Regions from separate parts of the Homo sapiens genome. Here region 1 is linked to region 2. The links are contacts of gene promoters, found by promoter capture Hi-C in human tissues and cell types (Jung and others, 2019). All regions are on one chromosome and are shown on one strand. The core of a region is centred on a gene start or on the middle of the fragment in contact, and the rest is flanking DNA. Distances in the headings are between cores, read along the strand shown.

The links. Contacts are between HindIII fragments. The study calls those that stand out against the background at their distance.
Region 1: the fragment with the promoter of ZNF853 here is called in contact with a fragment that was not itself captured in region 2 in 2 of the 25 tissues and cell types used here (adrenal gland and spleen).

The regions. Positions count from the first base shown.
Region 1 is chr7:6,614,312-6,617,011 of GRCh38, reverse strand. It overlaps ZNF853 (zinc finger protein 853), which reads right to left and starts at 1,402. Exons shown (of 3, transcript NM_017560.3): 1 at 826-1,402. The coding sequence starts at 837. RefSeq lists enhancers at 1,765-2,518, 2,519-2,700. The HindIII fragment of the contact is 23,550 bases long and covers 1-2,700 here.
Region 2 is chr7:6,650,071-6,652,770 of GRCh38, reverse strand. It overlaps ZNF316 (zinc finger protein 316), which reads right to left. Exons shown (of 9, transcript NM_001278559.2): 9 at 1-468. Among named protein-coding and RNA genes, the nearest start is that of ZNF316, 14 kb to the right of the region's middle. The HindIII fragment of the contact is 3,413 bases long and covers 1-2,700 here.

The DNA.
Region 1 (2,700 bases), core at 153-2,652, 36 kb after region 2:
TGGAGGCTCAGGACTGGGGAGTTGGCAGACAGCACCAGAGGCTGTCACCTGCATAGAGGCAGGACTGCCTCTCCTGACTTTTCACAGCGGGATGGAGAGTGGGGTAGCCCCACAGAGACACAACTGTGGGTATCAGCCCTTCACAAGGGAGGAAAGCTAGAGTCACCAAAGGGACATTCAGGGCGGGGAGCTCTGGGGCCAAAGAGAGACTGTCCATCAACATCCTCCCTGCCTCCTTCAATTCTTTTTTTATTAAATACTTTTTTTTTTTTTTCTTGATACGGATTCTCACTCTGTCACCCAGGCTGGAGTGCAGTGGTGCGATCTGGACTCACTGCAACCTCCGTCTCCCCAGTTCAAGCGATTCTCCTGCCTCCGCCTCCTGAGTAGCTGGGGCTACAGGTGCGTGCCATCACCCCCAGCTAATTTTTATGTTTTTTTATATTGTAGATGATGTTGCCCAAGGCTGGTCTCGAACTCCTGGCCTCAGGCGATCCTCCTGCCTCGGCCTCCTAAAGTGTTGGGATTATAGGAGTGAGCCACTGCGCCTGGCGCCCTTCCATTCTATTGCCTTCCTGGCCTGCTCTGAGAAGGCCGCCAGCAGGCCACGTGTGTCAGCTGCCACCCCAGCTCCCGGGCAAGGCAGGTGTCCAGAGCACTGTCACCCACGGCCTGGCCCTGTGCCCAGGCGCTCCTGAGAGTCCACCCTGGCCCGTGCAGAGCTGGCCCCTCTCCCCTAAACAGGCCGACTCGTGCCATCCAGTCCAAACTCTCTCAAGGGACGCGTCCCCGGTTGCCCAGCGCCAACGACCCCCTGGGCCTCACCTGGTGGAGCATTTCCTGCTCCCGGGCAGCCTCTGCGCTAGGGAGGTGTGGTCAGCAGAGGCTGCGAGGTGAAGGCCACGGCGTGCAGCCGGCTCCTTCCGGAGGCGCCTCCATCCAGAAAGAGCCAGGAGGCGCAGGGCCACCCCGGGGGCTTTCTGGGCACTCCGGAGGGTCCACGCCCTCTGGGCTGCCGAGGTCGCCCTGGGCCAAGGGAAGGGGCTGAGAGGAGCGGCCGAGCAGAAGTTGGTGGAGACTCTCCGGCGGGGGCTGGGGCGGGAGGCAGGGCCCCGAATCCCGCGCGGGGCTCAGGGCCGGCCCCCCGGGACCATCGCGGGCAGCGGGATCCAGGCCGGCGCCCGGGGTCGGCACCACGGGGTGGCCCCGCCTGGGGTCGGCGGCGGCCAGGCGACGCGGGTCCTCGGGGGCTACAGGTGCCCGGAGCCTGCGGGCGGCCTGGGCCGGGCCGCGCGGGGGCCGGGGCGGGGGCGGGGCGGGCGCCGCGGCAAGGCCGGGTCCCCCTGGGCTCGCCCGCCCGCCCGGGAGTGCGTCCGTGCGGGCCGCTGGCCGGGCCGGGGGCGGGGGCGCGGGGGCCGGCACAGGAAGTCCCCCCGGCATCCGCATCCTGTCCCCCGCCCCTGCCCGCCCGCCGCGCCCCCGCGCCCCGGCCCCCGCCGCCGCCGCCGCCGTCGCCGCCGCCGCTCTAGGCAGCCGCAGCTCGGTGGGCTTAACCATTCCCGGCCCGGCCACTCACCCGGCCCGGGGGACACGATGCGGCGGCCCCTGGGGCGTCCCGGGCTGGCCGGTGCCGAGCGCAGCGCGCGCTGTGCCGCATCCCTGCTGCGCGTGTCCTCGCGCCACGGGGTTGGCGACTGTCACTGCCTGGGTGTCTGGGTGGGGGGTACCCAACCCGATCCCTGCCACCCCCTAGAGGGCAGGCGTGGCCTCGGGGCGCCCCTGCCGCGGTGCAAATTGTGGCTAATTAGCACACAATTCGATGGCACTCGGAGAGGGAGTAGGCGCCATCCGGGCCCGGCCCGAGCGGGCCCTGGAGAGGCCACCCCGGTCCGCACCGTGGAGCCCTCCTCCTAGACCCCGGGGCTGGGGAGGGCAGGCCAGTAGGGAGTGTGTGCCTCCCTCCCCCGATCAGGGACTGTGACCTGCATAGATCAAATGAGGCCACCGTGGAGAACTGGCAGAGCTGGAATCCTCCCGCCCAGCGCCCCTGCGGCCTTTCGCTGACCACAAGGCTGGTGGTCAGGCCTCCCACCTCCCTCACCCTCTCCTCTCCTCTTTCCCTACTTGGCAAGTGGATTCCTGCCTGGGTCAGGGGTCTTCTCCAAGGGAGGCCTTCCCTAACCCCGTCTTAATGTTGCACCACCTAACTTTCCTGTTCTCGGTGCACAAACCTCTCTAACCTGGAGAATTCAAATTCAAATTGGGATGCTCAAATTCTTTAGAAAAAACCAAAGATCTGGGGGCAGGGCATGGTACTTCACGCCTGTAAACCCAGCATTTCGGGAGGATCACTTGAGGCTGGTAGTTTGAGACCAGCCTAGCCAACATAGCAAGACCCCATCTCTACAAAAGAGGTTTTTAAAAAATTAGCTGGGCTACTGAAAAGTAGCCTGTAATCCCAACTACTTTGGAGGCCAAGGTGGGTGGACCACTTGAGCCCGGGAGGAGGTCGAGGCTGCAGTGAACTATGATCGCGCCACTGCACCCCAGCCTGGGTGATAGAGTGAGACCCTGTCTCCATCTAAAAACAAGCAAACATGCTGGGCGCGGTGGCTCACGCCTATAATCCCAGCACTTTGGGAGGCCGAGGCGGGCAGATCACCTGAGGTCTGGAGTTGGAGACCAGCCTGGCCAACATGG
Region 2 (2,700 bases), core at 66-2,565:
GGTGGATGGCCAAGTGCGAGCGGTACACGAAGCCCTTGCCGCACTCCTCGCAGCCGAAGGGCTTGACGGCCGCGTGGTAGCGCTGGTGCTTGGCCAGCCGCGAGCGGTGCGGGAAGACCTTGCCGCACACGTCGCACGTGGTCTCCGGCCTCCCGGCCGGCGGGGCCACTGCGGCGGGGAACGCCCAGGGCGACAGCAGGTTCGCACCCGGCTCCCGGCCGGGCAGGAAAGGCTTCGCTTCAGAGCCGTCGGCCAGGACCCCCAGGCCGCCTGGGTCGGGTCCCCACCCCTCTGGAGTCTGCGCCGAATCCGAGTCGTCGGGCCCCCACGTCCCAGGCACGTCCCCCACGCCGTAGGCCGCCGACCAGAGCCCTGGGGGCTCGTTCTCCTCCTCGGCCACCTCCGCCAGGAAGTCCTCGTCGTCTTCCTCCTCGTGGTCCTCTATGTCGTCCGTCCAGAACCAGGCTCCTGAAGGTGACAAAGGCAGGCCAGAAGAGAGAGGTAAGTGAACTTGACAGGAGCCTCTGGCAGGTTCCTGTCCCGAGAAATCAGGGCTTCCGAGACGCCACCAGCAGGACCTTCCTTCAGTCGGACGGGGCACCTCCTTTCACCAAGTGAGCGGTTGCCCATGTCCCACTGCCAGTCCTGAACAGCCGCAAGGCAGGAAAGCCGCCGCCCCCAGCTAGGAACCTGGGGACACGCAGCACCTGAAACTGTCCCTCCCAGGAAAGCCAGGGCTCCCGTCCAACATCTCTTCCAGACCGCCGGCTCCCTCCAGGGCTTGCCACCTGCTGAGGAACGGGGCAAACTCTAGGAAGGGGTGCGACCGAAGGTTAAACCCAAGCAGGGATCCTGTGCTGAGAAAACCAGGTGGAGACGCTGGGGCAGTTTTCCCCAAAGCTCCTGGAGAACTCCGCCTCCCTGGCCTTCCTGGAAGACAGCGCAGCCGGCGGCCCTGTCCACAGAAGACCTGCCTTTGTCAGCTCTAAGCTTTTTGTTTTTGTTTTGAGACAAGAGTCTCACTCTGTCACCCAGGCTGGAGTGCAGTGGCTCGATCTTGGCTCACTGCAACCTCCACCTCGTGGGTTCAAGCAATTCTCCCACCTCAGCCTCCCAAGTAGCTGCGATTATGGGCTCAGGCCACCACGCCCGGCTTTTTTTTTTAAAAGCTCACTGCAACCTCCACCTCCCAGGTTCAAGCAATTCTTCTGCCTCAGACTCCCTAGTAGCTGGGATTACAGGCGCACAGCACCGCAGCTGGCTAATTTTTGTATTTTTAGTAGAGATGGAGTTTCGCCATGTTGGCCAGGCTGGTCTCGAACTCCTGACCTCAGGTGATCTGCCCACCTCGGCCTCCCAAAGTGCTGGGATTACAGGCGTGACCCACCGCGCCCAGCCTTTTTTTATTTTGTTTTGTTTTTTGAGACGGAATTGAGCTCGTTGCCCAGGCTGGAGTGCAATGGCCGAATCTCGGCCCACCGCAACCTCCACCTCCCGGGTTGAGCAATTCTCCTGCCTCAGTCTCCCGAGTAACTGGAGTTACAGGCGTGCGCCCAGATGATGATGATGATGATGATGATTTTAGTAGAGATGGGGTTTCTCAGTGTTGGTCAGGCTAGTCTCAAACTCCTGACCTCAGGTGGTCTACCCACCTTGGCCTCCCAAAGTGCTGGGATTACAGGGGTGAGCCACCGTGCCCGGCCTGTCAGCTCTAAGCTTTGCTCAGCTTCCCCCATTCTGCCCCTCTCACACCAAGCTGCACCCCTGCCCTCTCCCTTCAGCCTTGCGAGGCACCTGTGCAGGCAATGAACAACATGTAGATGGAGCTGGCTCGGTGGGGCTCCTGTTGATGGCTCAAACACCTAAGACATCGTGACGCACCCAGGAGGGAACTGGTGTCTATGGAGCAGGCACTAAGTCACGGGACACAGGGATGACACCTGGCCTGCAGCCCCAGATGCTCTAAGGCACCTTCATGGACCCTCCTGGTGTCTGCCCGACAGTCTCAGCATCTGGAAGGTTCCAGCTCCCACAGCTGGTGTGGAAATCTCCTCCTCACCCCACCTGGGTCCCCTGCCCATTTCAGCCGTCACCTAGCTGGATAAGCCTGGACCACTGAGTGCTGCCCTAGAGGGAAAGTCGGAGCCCAGGAGGTCCCAGTAGGCCTCGGGTAGCCCCTCATGTCGCACGCTGGCCCCTGCCAGGCTGCATGCCCTTGGCACTGCCTCGTCCCACATACATTCCATATGGGGACCTAGAGCCGCAGGAAAACACAGACCCACACAGGCCCGGCTTCACTGTGAAAAAACAGGCATCATAGAAAAGGGTCAGAAAACGGGTTACTGCATCTTTCACATTTCATGATACTTTATCGGTTTACTATCATAGTAAACGTAAGCTTGAAATAAAAAGGTTTCTTGTCACTAAGTTGAGTCTACCTCGAACTGCCACCCACAGCCACTCCGTGCACAGAGCAGCAAAGAAAAGCCCCGTCCCCATCAGTGGCCACCCTTCCCCGACTGGCAGCCACACTCCCCAGGTCTGGGAAGGCTGCTGCACCCCAGCCCTATACCCCAACCCTACAGGATAGGGAGGCTGGCAGAGAGCTCGAAAGGATCTCACCCTGAGGCTCTGATGCAGGTCTTGGGTTTAGAGACCCCTCCAAACGGGGAAGGTTCAAGCCTAGGAACAACTATGATT